4 separate regions of the Homo sapiens genome follow, and all the other regions are linked to region 3. Evidence: promoter capture Hi-C in 16 types of primary human blood cells and fetal thymus (Javierre and others, 2016). All regions are on one chromosome and are shown on one strand. Each heading gives the region's core, a stretch centred on a gene start or on the middle of the fragment in contact. The rest is flanking DNA. Distances are from core to core; before and after follow the strand shown. Region 1 overlaps MYH15 (myosin heavy chain 15). Region 2 overlaps CD47 (CD47 molecule). Region 3 holds the start of BBX (BBX high mobility group box domain containing). Region 4 overlaps LINC01215 (long intergenic non-protein coding RNA 1215).

What was found. Contacts are between HindIII fragments. The CHiCAGO score rates a contact against its expected background, and 5 or more counts as called.
Region 1: a contact is called between a fragment that was not itself captured here and the fragment with the promoter of BBX in region 3, in 4 of 17 cell types (M0 macrophages, M2 macrophages, total B cells and 1 more). The highest score is 8.6, in M0 macrophages.
Region 2: a fragment that was not itself captured here is called in contact with the fragment with the promoter of BBX in region 3 in 1 of 17 cell types (fetal thymus); the score reaches 7.4 in fetal thymus.
Region 4: a fragment that was not itself captured here is called in contact with the fragment with the promoter of BBX in region 3 in 1 of 17 cell types (fetal thymus); the score reaches 5.1 in fetal thymus.

Annotation. Positions count from the first base shown.
Region 1 is chr3:108,477,687-108,481,452 of GRCh38, reverse strand. The region is part of intron 11 of MYH15 (myosin heavy chain 15); the gene reads left to right. Among named protein-coding and RNA genes, the nearest start is that of MYH15, 31 kb to the left of the region's middle. The HindIII fragment of the contact is 2,077 bases long and covers 494-2,570 here.
Region 2 is chr3:108,084,432-108,088,482 of GRCh38, reverse strand. All of the region lies in intron 1 of CD47 (CD47 molecule), which reads left to right. Among named protein-coding and RNA genes, the nearest start is that of CD47, 4.6 kb to the left of the region's middle. The HindIII fragment of the contact is 6,383 bases long and covers 1-4,051 here.
Region 3 is chr3:107,520,259-107,524,594 of GRCh38, reverse strand. BBX (BBX high mobility group box domain containing) reads right to left here and starts at 1,633. Exons shown (of 18, transcript NM_001142568.3): 1 at 1,488-1,633. RefSeq lists silencers at 957-1,026, 1,137-1,226, 1,257-1,566 and an enhancer at 1,967-2,016. The HindIII fragment of the contact is 5,936 bases long and covers 1-2,706 here.
Region 4 is chr3:108,130,093-108,134,012 of GRCh38, reverse strand. All of the region lies in intron 1 of LINC01215 (long intergenic non-protein coding RNA 1215), which reads right to left. Among named protein-coding and RNA genes, the nearest start is that of LINC01215, 7.0 kb to the right of the region's middle. RefSeq lists a silencer at 1-90 and an enhancer at 1,759-2,958. The HindIII fragment of the contact is 1,460 bases long and covers 1,177-2,636 here.

The DNA.
Region 1 (3,766 bases), core at 283-2,782, 960 kb before region 3:
TTTATTGAATGTCCTAGCCTCCACCCCTCAATCTCCACCAGATGTAAGCTTTGTAAGAGCAGGGACCTCATTTGGTGTGTTCACTGCTATATTTCCAGGTTTTAAAATGTGCCTGGCACATAGTAATGGCTAATTATTCATTAAGTGAACCCTACCTACTCAGAGACAATCACTGTGAATGCCAAAGGACATATTTTTTACGCATTTTCTAGTTGAATATGCACATATAACTTTTTAAAATAAAAATGTGATCATATTCATGTTGTTTCAGCCTAGTATTTTTTTACCAAATTATATGTGAACATCTTTTTGTCTTTTCTGCAATATCTTTTTAGATGGCTACAAAATATTCCATTGTATGAATGTACCATAATTAACTTAAGCATCTTACTGGATACTGAGTTTTTTTCAGTATGCTTCTACCTTTAGCTCATTTTAAAAATGGAGGTGTTGAATTTTTCTTTAATTCTAAGGGTTCTTAATATATTAAGCTTTGGTAAATTTTTCCCAGTTAATTATTTAGGAAGGTTTTGAAGGAGCTGGACAGATGGAGAAGAAGGAACGGGGAAGGGCACCCAAACCCAAAGGGGCATCTTAGCCTTTGCCTCTTTCTTGAGTTCCAACTCCATATTTCCAACTCTCAGCTGCATATTTTCTAGTATCCTAAACTCTGCATGGCTAAAAGTCCATCATCTTCTCCCCTAAGTGATGTCTTCCTATTGGCATTTCTATTCATATTTATGGTATTGTTCTTCTTTCTACTTCTCAGACTGGAAACCTCCTAGTCATATTTCTCAGTCTCTCTTTCTCCCTTTCTCATTACAAATTTGGAGCTTCAGCATCTCACACTTCAGCATTCTGCAATGGGTTCACTCTGTACTTTAAAACTTCCTACTCTGGTCTGTCTTGCACATTTCCAAAATTAAGCATCCTAAAGCATGACTCTAATTATGTCATTTCTCTGCTTACAGCTCCTTTAACATTTCCCCATTCTTTAATTAATATGTTATAGCGGCATTAGATGTCTTCTGCGACCAGAAGTCACCCGCTTTTCTCAGTTTCTCACTCACTCCCTGGTATCGTAGTCCAGTCCCTCTGGGTTACAACCTCTTCTTTGACCATACCTTGTACTCTTCAACGCCTGTGGCTTCAAGTCGTGCTGTTCATTGTTAAGGAAACTCTTCTTCTCCCATATTTGCCTACAAAAACTCTTGTCATCCTTCAAGGCTCAGATTGAATGTTGTTTCTTTTTTAATCCTTCCCCAGTCATGCAGTCCAGAAGGGCTCTTTCCCTACTTCACAGTTTTGTGATACTCGATTTGTGTGTCTCTTATGCAGTTGTTTTACTGACATACTATTTTTTCCCATGTCTTATTTACTCTCATAGATTATAATTTCTTGATGCCAGGGATTTTTGCCTTGTTTATTTATCTTCTTATTACATTATCTAGCATCAGGGCTTACACATAGCAAATGCTCAGTTAACTTTGTTTAATAAATTAATGAAATATGAACAGCTCAAAAATTGTATTATAACCTTCCATAAAAGAGATTAATATCTTTATCATAACCCCTGTAGACTGACAAAACTGGATTTTGCTTCATTCTTTCATATCTGGTTATTTGCAGATGGGACTGAACTGGGACAGAATTGGAAATTTGGAAAAGATTCCTTTTTGAGTTTCTCTACCTTTTTACCTGTTTTCAGGTGAAGTCATACTTTGTTCTTTCCATCTTCCTGATTTCAAAATAAACTTACGAAACCTGGTTATTATTCTCTAGACAGTAGTTTGCAAACTTGGCTGCTCAACAGAATCGCTGGGGAACTTTTAAAATCCTGAAGCTCAGGCCTTACCCAAGCCAGACAAGCCAGATTTCTGTGGGTGAATTTCAGGCATCAGTATTTGTTTTTACAACTTGCCAGGGACCCCAGTGTGCAGTCAAAGTTGAGGACTACCACAATAACAACTTTGTTCTCAAACTTGTATGTGTATCAGAATCACCTGGGTAACACGATAAAACTAGAGCGGCCCAGCCCCTAACCTGCTTCAGGGAGCCTGTTGTTTAATCTTTGATTAGCTCTCCAGGCTATTCCAATACACACTGATGCTTGAGAACCACCTCTCTAGCTAAATGTTACCTCTCCCAGGTAAGATCATGCAGCCTAATTGAAGTCCATGGGTTCATTCACAAGGTCCTGAAGGAACTGATGCTTATGGGTGGGAATTTCATAAAGCCTATTTGGGAATATGATTAAAATATGTTTACACATATTGCTATCTTTACAACAGTAGTTCCTGAATGTCAGATGGGCATTTAGTCATAGATTTACGCCATTTTCATCTTGGTTGCAAACTGTAAACATTTAGTGCAAATGAAGTAATTTACTTTTTGGAACATGATGACCTCTATTGTTTCCTCTTTCCCCCCAAAACAGAGAACATATGTGATGTATAATGTAAATCTCTGGAGTAAATCCAGGGTACACTAGTCCTGTCTGTAGATACTCAACTATCTCTGGAGTAAGTGACAAATAATCCTGTAATGTTAGATGCTATTTCTGTTAAGCTTAAGGTGGGATACTCCTCAGAGAATCTGAATTTCTTTTGTTCATGGATAAAAATAGACTCAAAGGACTGTGCTTAACACTGGAAAAAGGATATATGAAGACTCGGCATGGGGAACTATTCTTTGAGACTATTATTACCTGTATTATCTCTCTTCATGCTTCCAAAGCTTAGAAAAAACAAATGTTTCTCTTTTTTTTTTTTTAAACCTGGACAGATACTGGAAAATTGTTTTTCACATTGTTGGTTACTGTTCATCTCCACTCAGGTTGCCAGGCACATTGTATTTCTTCCCGTCTTTTAAATATTTTCACATTGGATTAGATACTCTATAAAGTCTCTTTCAGTTCAAAAAGTCTATGATTTGACATACTGGATTCTCAATTTGAAATTATCAAGCTTTTGCCGCCAAACCTGGCACTGTTAGCAGGCACATCTCAGTATAGGATGGGCATGTCTGCTCTACCTTTGATTTTCATTTATTTTTCCAAATAGGCTTTGTGTTTTGAAAGGTTTCATAGCAACCAAGTACCCAGGCTATTATCACTGCAAATAAACTAACATAAAGTAGGTATGTAACTTGTAGCAATGTATGTATTATATATATTGATTTTAGTTTATAAGAAAATCAAACATTTCAAACATTTTAAGCCTTGTAAACATTTTAAAGGCTGTGAAAAGGAAATTGATATTGCTAATACAGACGAGATAGAGCTCTCTAATTGTGTTTTGTTTTTACTTTATTTTCTGTTCGTGATTATTGCTCTGGAAAATTTGCAGCTTTTTTTTTCTTTAGTGAATTAAAGAAAGGCTGCATTACCTTCTATTATAAGACATTATTCAACAGAATGACTATGCCAGACATACTAGCATATCTCCAAATTCCTTTAAAATAGAAAGCAGAGAGGGGTTTTGGATGAGTGGAATATTTATTTTGTTGGTAACTGAAATAATCTACAATTTGAAATAAGCTTATAAATTTTTGCCTGTGTCATTATTTTGTGTCATTTTTTCATACCTGAAGTGATACATGCCTATTTACTTTTCCTTCTGATAATACTTATTCTCCACTTCTTGAGGAAATGGAAGCTTTGTTTCATAAAACAATTTTGTGGGGTGTAAGTATTATTGTTGGGCAGCAGAGGGCACTACGGAGCAAACAGAGACCTTGCCGGGAAAGGAAGGGTGTTTTACAGATA
Region 2 (4,051 bases), core at 200-2,699, 560 kb before region 3:
CTATTTAAAAGTACGTATTTATGGGGCCGCCCCAGCAGTCTAGAGGCAGTGTTTTTTAAAGCATTACACTAAATGCCTACCATTAGGACACTTGCTCATGCTGTCATCTGTGTTTTGGCAGATGTTTTATCTTTGTCACTGAGTTGTTCATGGAGATTTGAAAGGCCAAGTTCTAAAGATGAGAGATAGATGACTTTCCCCCCAAATTGATACATATTCTAAATCCAAAATAATCACGCATATTCGCAAAACTAGATTTGCATTTCATAGTATGAATTCAGCTATAGCTAGTATATAGGCATTGCTTTTAATATAGTAATGTTCTTTTTGTGGCATAATTTTCAATCACTTTCCCTGTCTTAGGTTTCTGCCTACCTTTTTATACAAGATAAACATTTCTATTTTCATATCTTATCTCTCAGTCTGATTTTAATAATATCGTCTTGGGTTATCATAAAGTTACTTTCACTTTGTATACTAGTGTAGATATTTCTTCTGTGATAAAAAGAACAAGAATAATAGTGTAGGATCAGTTTTGTTAAACTCATTGTAGTACTAAAGTAGAAAATACAGAGCACCCAGGAAATTTGATTCTGATATACCTAGACTAAGACAATAGAATCTGGGTTTTTCCTCTTTACGATTATACAGTGTTGAAACAGAAATCAAGCTACACCCACCTCTGAATATTTCATTCCAAATCCATGGAGCAGTTGCATAAGACTCAGAATCTGGTCAATCTCATGGTTTGAGATTCAGATTAGGAGAATTAATGTGCATATTTGAATATATATCACACTTGTAGGTTAAAAGGTAAAGCAAGGGGTTTGGCTAGTTCAAGGCCTGTCAAAACCACTTTTTTCCATTTCAAGCAAGTATGAGCCTATACTACACACCAAGCAGTTTGCAAAGCCCTCTTTGGCATATAGACAAATTTCAGACAGTATGTCAGTATGTCTCTTAATGACTTAAGATGTAGTATATAGACAGTAGGGATATCTTGTTTTTATTCCCTCATGGTACTTAGGTGCTTGTTAAGGCCATAATTCTGGATGTTATTGACTTTAAACTGCCCTGCCCTTTTTAATTCTAAGTTGGCCTCTTCCATTCTTATAAGGCCACTTTTAAATTCATTAGGGGGATTGCGTTGGGTCAGAACTAAGTACAACTTGTGGACACCCCACTCTACCCCAGACCTTTATTTTAGTGTCCATTGAGGAGAGATCTGACTTCATCCTTTTTGTACGTAACCCAGTGTAGCTAGAGACTCCAGTTCTTCAAGCCAGACACTAGTTCTAAGGGGCAAAAGTAGGTAGGATTGCTTTCTGGCATGTGTCTTTACTGATGATCTTTGCTTCTTTACCTAAGAGGCTGCTGAGACTTCTTACTCCATTCCTGAACATCCATTCCCAGCAGATAATTAACTTCCTACTCTACTGCAAAAAATAGTGGTGTGTGGTTTGGACTCCCTCTGCTTCCCTCCCACCATTACTAAACTGATCTATAACATCTTAGATAACCTTCGTCTCATTCTCTTCCGTCATCCAGCTTCAGAAGAAAACCTACTCACTTTTCCAACGAAAGGACAACCTGTCTACCACCTTTTCACTTCTACCATCTTGGAGACCTGCTCAGTCAGCATAATTCTTCAGTCTTGCATCTTAGATCTTTCCCTCTCCATTGACTCCTTCCCCGTAGCTTGCACACATGATCAAATTTTACCCCATATTAAAAAATAAAACAAAAAACCTCAAGAACCAAAATGTCCTTGCCCTTGTTCCTGCCTGCACATTGTCAGTTGTTGCCTTCTCTGCTTTCTTACACTGCCAAATTTATTGTAAAAGAATCACTGCCACTTAATATATTTTAAGTGCTTGATAAAGCCATCTTGTTTCTCTCTCATTTCTCAAACATAGTGTGCATCAGATCTCACTAGTCCATTGACAGATGGAAAGATATTCTCCCCAAATATTTAAGCCTCTTTTCTCTATAATTAGCCTACCATCTAACTAGCTACACATACTATTTTGGTTCACAATTTTAATTTTCCCCTCTTTATCTCCCCTGCTTCCCACAACTAACTTCTGTTGATTACTGTAAGTTTTAGGTCTTCTCTCCAGTTGTTCTTTACCTGGACTATTGCAGTAGTCTGTTAACGGATCTCCCTTTCTCTTTTCCCTTGCTGCCCTCAGTCCTTCCTTTACACTGCTGTCAATGTTTTTTTTTTAATGAAATTAAATCTGAGTGGTTTACAGTTGTTTATGTTATCAAGTCTAAACTCAGCATGACATTCAAGGAAGCCCTTTAGAATTTTTCTTATTCATCTTTTCCAACCTCATTTCCTAGAGCTCACCTAAATAATTCTCTGCTTTCAGTTCTTCACTTTCTTTATCTGGCTGTACACGTTACTCTGCCTAGAAAGCCCCTTCTTTCCCATAACATTCTTACTCATCCTTTAAGACCCAGTTTAAACATCACCCTCTAGGAAGATCATTCATAGACACATTCTTGTGATTTTTAAGGAACTTTTCTATCCAACCATACAAGTGACTTGAGATTTTCCATGAAAATATGCAGCTTCATGATTTCATAATCAAGTCTATACAAGTGAGAAGCAGTGGCAGGTTCTCTTGAAATACAGAAGAAAAATCTATCTTCTCCCACATGATTTTTAGATTTTTCTTCTATGGAATTTATACTTTAAACTTTTTACATTCACAAGGAAGGTATTGAATCCTACTTTCTGGACCCTGTGTTAGATTCTTAGGATACCAAATGAAGACAGTGTCTTACTTTCTGAGCCTGGAGAGATCAGTTAAGTAAAATAGTAATTACACAGTAGTAGGTACAGTGACAACATTTGAACACAAGGCAATGGGAGCAATAAGGAGGGGAAGAATACAATTGAGTAATGGTAGGGAAGGGGAACAAGATTGAACAACTCAACTGTGCTTTAGTAGGAAGAGCAAAAGTTAGCAAACTGTAGCTGCCATTTATTGAGTACTTGCTGTATATGTGAAAGGTGATACAAAAACATGTTATCTTATTAAATCTTAACAATATCTCTATGAGGTATATACCATCACTATGCACATTTTATAGATGAGGAAACTGAGGAGCAGAGGTAAGTAACTTGCCTAAGGTTATACAGCTAAGAAGTACATGAGGTGAATCTTAAACTAGGGTCGACCCCTTAATGTGTGCACTTAACTATTATACACCCTATGTACTCAGTGGGGTAATAGTGTATAACAGTTAAGAGGCTATTTAGGTTTGAGGAACAGTATGTGCTAAGGCATGGGGATGAGAGTGCATTTGCATAGTCATGGAATTGCAATAACGTCATTATGATTGGAGCTTAGTGTGGAAATGAGGGAGTACAGGAGGTGGGGCTGGAAAGGATCTTGAAGGACCTCGTTTGTATTCCATGCTAATGTACTTAGAATTTAGCCTGAAAAGGGTTGAGGGTGTTGTTAAAGTATCTTAGGCAAAGGAGTGCACATTTGCATTTAGAACAGTTATTTTGGGAACTGTAGAAAATACATCAGGGCCAGGATGGAGAAACCTTGAGGATGGAGGCAGGGAGCTGGTTAGAAGGGTATGGCAGTAGTTCGAGGGGGGAGGATGAGTGTCTAATTCATTCATTCAACAGACATTGGATTTAGGAACTATTAATTAGGTTGAACCTACTAAGAATTCTCCATGGCTAAGGAGAGGGAGTAATCTAATGTGATTCTTAGGTCCAGGTCTGGTTCACTGGTAGATGATAGAAAATACTTTAGCAAAGTGATTTAGGCTGAGGGTAAGAAGTGGGGGTACGTAAGTTTTTGGACATACTGACTTTGAAGTAACTGTATTACATCCAAGTGGAAGTGCACAGCAGACAGTTGGCTGTCCAACATCTGCAGTTTAGAAGAAAGGCAGTGCATGATTCAGTTTTTTATTTAAAAGTTTGCAGGTGAAGAAAACCATGGGAGTCAGGGAAAATACTAGGGGGCAGAGGGTACTGAATCTGAAGCCCTTAGGGACACTAACATTTAGTGTGAGTCAA
Region 3 (4,336 bases), core at 384-2,883:
TTAGCTTTTTGCATCGTTTCGTTTTACCTTCCTCATTTAGCAGAAATGATCGCGGCTATTTCACACATAAACGTGTTCCAGATTCTGGGATTCAGGGTCCTTGTAAATTACAGGACTCGGGTTCGGTCTCAGTTATGTTAAGTTTCATACAATACCAAAAAATAAATAAAATATGATAATAAATTTCAGAGGGTGAGTGAGCGAGACGAGGTGGAGGAGGAAAAGAAACCTCGAGTCTGATTTCTGTAATTTACTAGCGACCCGGATCGCAGCAAATAACAGTGTAACACGAGTGTGGCTTAAGAGGGCTAGGGAGCTCTTTCTAGAGGCATCGACCCCATCCCCGGATAAAGGATCTGCAAGTTTTCTGTCATCGCGACCAGGCAAAGCCGTAACTTACCTTCAGAAATAAGACTTTAAACGGCCAAGGCCTTCCTCCTCCCCTCCACCACCACCCTCAGCCTCGCTCTCTCCACCTTAAACTTATTGACACAACATAATCCCACATTCAAGCAAAATCCTGACACAGCCTCCCTCCTCCTCTTCCCCCTCCTCTCTTCCCTCCCGTTCTCTCTCTCCCTCTCTCTCTGTCTCCCTCTCTCCCCCCCCTTCCCTCCCTCTTCTCTCTCCCCTTCTCCCTCGCCCTCTTCCCCCTCTCCCCCTATTCTTCCTCCAGGCTACTCTGGCACTAAAACAGCACTTTCTCTACTCGCCGCGCATTTGGGTAGGGGTGGGGGGTGAGAGGGCACTGATCTGCGGGGCCGGAACACCCAAATCCCAACTCTCCAGATGAACGAGCAACTGGGCTGCTGTTCCCGGTCACCAACGCAGACGAAACGTTCAATAAATCCACCGAAGGCTGGCTCCTCGTACCTTCCTCCACTGCCCCTGCTCCCCAGGCCCCACCTCCCCGGCAGCCGAGACCAGGCAGGGCTCCACGTACTTTCGCCGAGATGAAGTTTGGGGCTCCCCGGGCGGCCACGAGCCGCCCGCCGGCGTGAGGGCTCTGTTGTTGTTTTCCTGGGGCCGCTCCAGCCCGCGCCCCGGCGCCCGTGCCCCTCTCAGGCGGCGCTGCCTGTGTGCCGAGAGGTGCTGGTTGCAAACGCAGCCTGGCACCGGCTGGCCTACTACTCCCCAGCCCGGCCCCCAGCCTCCCGCTCGCAGGGCACTGCCTCAGCGCCCCCCGCCCCCCGGCCCCAGCCGGCGCGGCCGCCGCGACCCTCGCCCCCGACCTCTCCCGACCCAAAGTTTTGGCGGAGGGGGAAAGTGCCCAGGGAGCGGGCCGGCTGGCGGCGGCTCCGGACGCGCGGGGTTCCCTCCGTCTTCCTCAAGTCCACCCTACCGGCTGCCGCCGCCGCCGCCGCCGCCGCCGCCGCTGCTCCTGCCGCGGAGTCCTTGGGGCTGCAGCCCGGCGGCTCGCAAGTGAGTAGGAAAACAGAAAGTGAGGGGAGTGCGCCCAGGGAGGGCTGGGGATGGGGGGCGCCTACCTCGCGGGCTCGCCGGGCGTGAGGGCGTGTGTGTAGCTAGCCCTCAGCGGCCAGTCAGGGTTTCTCTATGGGAAAGTGGAGAGAAGCTCGCGGAGCCGCTCTGCCTCCGCTTCACTGTACACTGCTCCACATACAGTACATGCAACCCGGAGAGACTGAAAACACTCATTTTATATAAGGCAGCCTGCCATTGGCCCGCGCAGTGACGGACAGGCCGCGCAGCCAAACAAGAGGCCCGTTACACCCAAACACACGCACACATACACACATTTTACAGAGACACACAAAGATCATCACATTTTCTATTTTCTAATGTTCGGGACCTGTAGACAGTAGGAGAGGACAGGTAAAGAGGCCCAGCAGAGTGGGGTAAAGGGGAAAACCCCTGTCTGCACCAAGTTGCAAGGCTTGAAACTGGTGTCCTTTTGACTTGGGAGGGTTATGGTAATAAACTACAACTCCACTGGATATGGAAGTGAGGGGGGTTTTTCATCGCTGCCTTTTGGTGCCCCATGGAAGAGGCCTGCATTGTGTTACGATTTTACAGCCTGACCCGGCTAACAAGTGGCCAAGAAAGGCTTTTATCACCTTGGATTTCTTTTGTCAATGGGTTAGCTATCACATAGGCCAAAATAGTGCAAGATAAGTTTATCAGGACTCTAATGCATTGAGGTTGTTAGTGCCTCATTCGTAGGTAGATTCAAAAAAATCAATATAACAACACACAAAGATAAACATTTTGCTGAAATAGCCAAACAACTTTTAACTGGTCAGTGGACTGCCATCACCTGTGTGGACATGCAAACTGTGCTGTTAGGTAAAATAAGTCATGGAAGATTGGCTATTGACCCTTAGCCTTCAAAACAGACCTTTGATTCAATATATACATGATTTATATTTTGCATATTATATATAAAAATATATGACTCTTTACATATTTCACATCTCATGTGAACATCATATGTTGCATGACTTTTGGAGATGATGAACCTCAGGACTGGTCTTTCTGATTGTTTTTCAACAATGCAACTTCAGAAGATTATATGAGACAGTTCAATACACATAAGTCAACAGGTTGGTGGAAAGAAGTCAAAGCTGGAAATTAGAAGGAATAAATTGTAGATTAAACTCTTTAACCAGCTGAGCAATCTTGAGCAAGTTACTTAACCTCTCCAATGCTCAGACTTGGTTTTGATTTTTAAGATTAAAATAAGAAGCTTTTCCAGATTCCCTCAATTAAATGTTTATTCAGCATCTACTATGTGTCAGGCATTATCTTAGGCCTAGATGTTTTCTTAGGGTTCCTTCCGTTTTAAGAGTTGGTGAATTATTCTCAAATACAAACATTTTGGAGATTACATAAACACTACGATTTTATGGCCTAGGTAAGTAGCTTTAAAACTTAAAGAAAACCCAACTAGGGCAACTTATTTCAGTTCCCCTTTTATTTCCTTGATGCTGTCTTAAGGTTTTTCTCTCGCATCCATAAAGTTGTTAAAAGAGTGTATGTGTGCATGTGAGCACTCCTGTGTAAGAGGGAGAAAGAGAAACAAAATCAGAAAAGTTTAAAAAGTTCAGAAAACAAAGTGGTATTTAGAAATGTGATGTTTATTTTTTTAGAAAAATCATTTTTAAAAGGAAAAGTATATAAAAAATCACAGCATTTTATTTTATTTTATTTTTGAGATGGAGTCTAACCCTGTAGCCCAGGCTGGAGTTCAATGGCGTGATCTCAGCTCACTGCAACCTCCGCCTCCCGGGTTCAAGAGATTCTCCCACCTCAGCCTCCCGAGTAAGCTGGGACTACAGGCACCTGCCATCATGCCTGGCTAATTTTTGTATTTTTGTAGAGACAGAGTTTCACCATGTTAGTCAGGCTGGTCTCGAACTCCTGACCTCAGGTGGTCCACCTGCCTCGGCCTCCCAAAGTGTTGAGATTACAGGCATGAGCCACAGCGCCCAGCCAATCACAGCATTTTAAACAGATAATATCAAAGTTTGTATTAGGGGTGGGCGCGGTGGCTCACATCTGTAATCCCAGCACTTTGTGAGATGGAGGCGGGTGGATGACCTGAGGTCAGGAGTTCGAGACCAGCCTGTCCAACACGGTGAAACCCCCGTCTCTACTAAAAATACAAAAATTAGCTGAACGTAGTGGTGGCACCTGTAATCCCAGCTATTCGGGAAGCTGAGGCAGGAGAATCACTAGAACCCAGGAGGTGGAGGTTGCAGTGAGTACAGACTGCACCATTGCACTCCTGCCTGGGGGACAGGGCGAGACTCCGTCTCAAAAAAAAAAAAAAAGTCTATTAATGGCAGTTTCATTTAGTTGACACAAGGAACAAAATGTTCTTTATCCACACTACACTGCTCTGAGGTCAGTGCTAAGTATTATCACCTCTAGTTTACCCATAGGAGAAATGAGTCAGGGACAAGTTATATAGCCTGCTCCATATTGCACAGAATGATAATGAAGAAGGAACTTAAACCGAGGACTTTTAATACCCAGCACAGGTTTTGAGTAATTTGACAACCCTTCCCTCCAAATCATGAACTTCAGAGGCAAGAGGGAATTGGAGGGAAAACCAAAAAAACTTTCTTAGAATTTCACTGTGCTCCTTTTTGAAAAGGAAAAAAAGTCGACAGGAGTTGCTACATTTAATTGCAGAGTGAAGTGTTGTGCATTATTTGCTAGTAGAACTATGTTGTGAAAAATAGAAAAGCCTATCCTACTCCCCACTCTTATCCCCAACCTCCAACCATAGGAAAACATTCTTCATATTTTTATGGTCACAAGATATTTTTGTTGAATTACACTTAGCTTAGCAGAATTATTTAGAGGTACGGTC
Region 4 (3,920 bases), core at 657-3,156, 610 kb before region 3:
CACTTAAAGTGATACTGAAAACTATTACTTTTAAGTGGCATTTTCAGAGGTTTGTCAGTTATAAAATAACCAAGTAGGAAGCATCAGTGAAAGCCATCTGGCCTTCAAATACTGCTTGTCTCTCCCTCACTCTATTATCTTTCTAGAGTCCCTGAAACCCTTAGCTTTGTTCATTCTTCAACAGACAGTATTTATTAATGTCCTTCAAGTGTTCCATCAGGGAGCCGGGTGGTGGGAATTAATACAACAGTATATGTGTATGAATATACATGGGGCTGTACCCACAGAGCTTATTAAACAAGTGTTGTCAATGACGGGTGCCAAATACCATGACAGGAGAAGCATGCTTTACATAGGAGCCTTCCTGGGAACTTCTAATCCATGAGGGTAGAGGGAGGCAGAAGCTTCCTGGAGGAAGTAATATTTTTAACAACCCTACCCTGTCATTCTTTTGAACCAAGGCATTTATTTATCCTTGTTGAAATGCAAACTACTTACCACTTACCCAGGAGAATAACACTTTTAGATCATAAGAACTCTGGGTATGTTGGCATACATTAGCTTGTCCACAAGCTAAGGCCCTGAGGAAATGAATATTAGAATTATTAAATTTTAGATGGCAGCAAAAGGAAGATTAAGCCCATGGCTCTGTTTAAAGATCAGGAGGCCACTTCTATGGGGAACTTTTTGTCTGCAGAACTTTGGGGTTCTGGGGATTAAGATAGGGCTTAGGCTCAAGACACTAAAATAGGATTCAGGTTACATGGATGATTTCCCCTACATTATAGTTTTGCCTAAGCCTATTCTACTCTTGAGCTAGTCCTTACAACTCCCACTCATCAGGGAAAATGCCTCCACTTGGCTTCTGGATAGTGAAAGTGAAGTGTGAAATGTAAGAGGAAAAGTATCTTTATAAAATCTGATATGCCCAAGATAGTTCTGCACCAAGACAAGTTTAGCTGGAAAAAATTCATCTTTCTGTTTTTCTACAGGTTATCTCTATGATCTCTCCTTGTATGTAAATTATTTATAAGAGTGTGATTCTAAAACTCAAGGTAAAAATTCGTCACTCACTTTTTGTTTACATGAATACGTGCCAGAACCTACACTTCCCCATTCTTATAGCATTACAAAAATGCCGATACATGAGTCTCCTGTTTATTAACTGGAAAAGCTTTCAACTGAAAATCCCCACTGTGTAATTTATACAGGCACTTTGAGATGTAATAAAAATCCCTAACCCTAATCTCAACCTCTGTCCTTTTAAAATCCAATTCAGAACACTTGTCAAGTGATTGACTAGAAAGGTGCCTTCCATTAAGCAAATGCCAGGAGGTGTTTTCTTCTGAAAATGAAGAGAGTTAGCAAGTGATCAGCAACTAGGAATTTTGTCTCTATCCTTCCTGTTGTGAGAGCTCTAACTCTGAGCCAGGATCCCTGCCTCCAGCTCTTAGGAGTTTGAGTGCATGTGTGTGTGTGCGCGCACGTGTGTGTGTGTGTGTGTGTGTGTGTGTGTGTGTGTGTGCATGCATAGTCATGCTTTGGAGTGAAGAGGAAATTCAACTCTGAGTTTCCACTTTTCCTGTGGACAAAGATCTGTTCCTTGTGTCCCCACATGGCATGGTGGAAATGGGGCATGCGTCACAGAAAGGATAACATTTTATAGGCTACAGTGCACTAGAGCACGTTAACTTTTATCCCAACAACAAACCTGCAGAAAAAGAGTAGGTTAGTTACAGATGTTCTTTTGCTTACCAACTTTCAACCTATGGATATTCACAGATAAAATCCCAAGCTCTCCTGTGAGAACATACTACATGGTAACAGCAGATGATATGGAATGTACACTGCTGCCTTTTGAACTCAAAAACTGTGCTGTTCACCATCAATGCATTTGCTGTGTTTGTGAGAGTTTTTTTTGAGAAGTTTTCCCAAGCATTATTAACCACATCAGATTCAATAAATCCAAGAAAATGGAGAGTGTTCAAAGTCCTTGTTGATATATACAATTACCATGGAAACAGAAGAGATTTTTAAAAACTGGAAGTGATGAGAAAAAGAGGAACTCTTCACACGAATATAGGATGAATTATTCAATAGTAGAAATGATTATAAAGGGCAAAGAGCAAATCGTGCAACGTACAAAAGTGCTGTGCCTGTGTCCGTGGACAATATCAGCAAGAGAATGGAAGAGGAAGACAAAGGATGACTTCTTGAGTCGGCACCTTGACACTAGATGGGCAGAGGAGCCTCCTGTTCATTCCGGGGAGGGCTAACTTGGGAGAAGTTTAAGAGCTGGCCAAAGAGACTCTGCTCTTGAAACTGTTGCCTCAAGGCAAAGGGATGCCTCTTCCAGTCTGGTTCACATCCACATGAGGGGCGAGGCGACGAGAATGCAGGCTGTGGCTCCTAAGGACCTCCTCAGGACACTTGGGAGATCCCCAAGAACAGTTATCTGCCCCCACAGACTTCCAGCAGAGACAAATGACAAATGACAATAATTTTGGGGAAAATGTCCTTCACTCATTCAAAAGCTATATTTTTAGTGCCTTCTATGCACCAAACATTATTTTATCACCTAGGCAGACATGGCATTGAACATGCATAAACAAGAACACCAGCTTTTATTAAAAGCTTTGAGAAACTGATTCATGCTCCTATTCCTGGAAGTGCATTTGTGACAGCAAGCTTAGTCACTTTGGAATTTCCAACAAACAGATTCAATTACAACCATATTGTAAGTAGAATAGTTTCTGTGTTAGTAGTTGCCAGTCTAATAATGAGGAAACTGGGCTATGCAGGGCTTAAGACACTTGTCCTAAGTTGTCAGAGGTGGAATGGAGTCAAATCCAGCTGTTGATTTCAAACTAGTGCTCTCATCTATGCATCTCAATTCTTTACAATATGATCCAACATACTGTCCTATAGATGAACCAAAAACTGACTCTAAAATTTCCTTTCTCCAATTCTTGGAAGCCAATGACATGCAATGTCTTCAGTTTTATTTTTTGCATATGATGAAGAGCTACTTTCTAGTAACTTACTAAGTATTTACTAAGGATTACTACATTATGGCATAATGATCTAAAATTAGCACATTATTACAGTTTACCAATGACTTAATTCTGTGCTATACTAAGAAGATTGCATAGCACCAAAGAACTGTTAATTCTGGCATGTGACTCACTTAGAGACAAGGAGATAGTTTGGAACTTCTGTAATTTTTAGTAAATAGGCTATACATTTTGAGTGTTGTTATCATGAGTGGGCTGGAGATTTCCATTTCTGCCATTCTTACCTTTCATTATAACTCACTGTTAATTTGATTTTTAAATTCTCATTTAAATTGTGGTGGATTGTTGGGTTAATCCTACAATGAATAGTAATGTATCAACAGCATTTCACCTTAAATCTATCCAATGACTGGATTTTAAGACATAAGTCTATTAAAATTCAAAGTAGTAATTTATTTTGCTAAAGCACAAACGTGTAGAATCCACACTCACCTGGCAAATATACTGAGATGCTCATTATATTTATCAAATTCTTTTTATTAGAAAGCGGAAGTGAGTAGTAAAGGAGTGAACGCAGGATATTTCTGCTCATGCTTGAGAACATCGAGTATTATTTTAACCTCTAGAAAACTAGTACTGCTATCTTTTAGGTCTAAGTACCATTCCCTATTGGCAAGCTACCTAAAAGCTATGTCTAACCCCTTCTCCCTTGCTGCCTCCCAGCACAGAGGCTGGAAAATAAAATATGTGGTTTGCCCATCTTTCTTGAAGCTAGGGACAGTCATGTCATCCTGTCTGGCCCATGAAATGTACATGGAATTCTTCTGGGGGAGACTACTTAGAGAGTTTTATATTTCCTGATGAATTACCTCCAAATAATATTGAAGACAATGCCTGGAACAACAG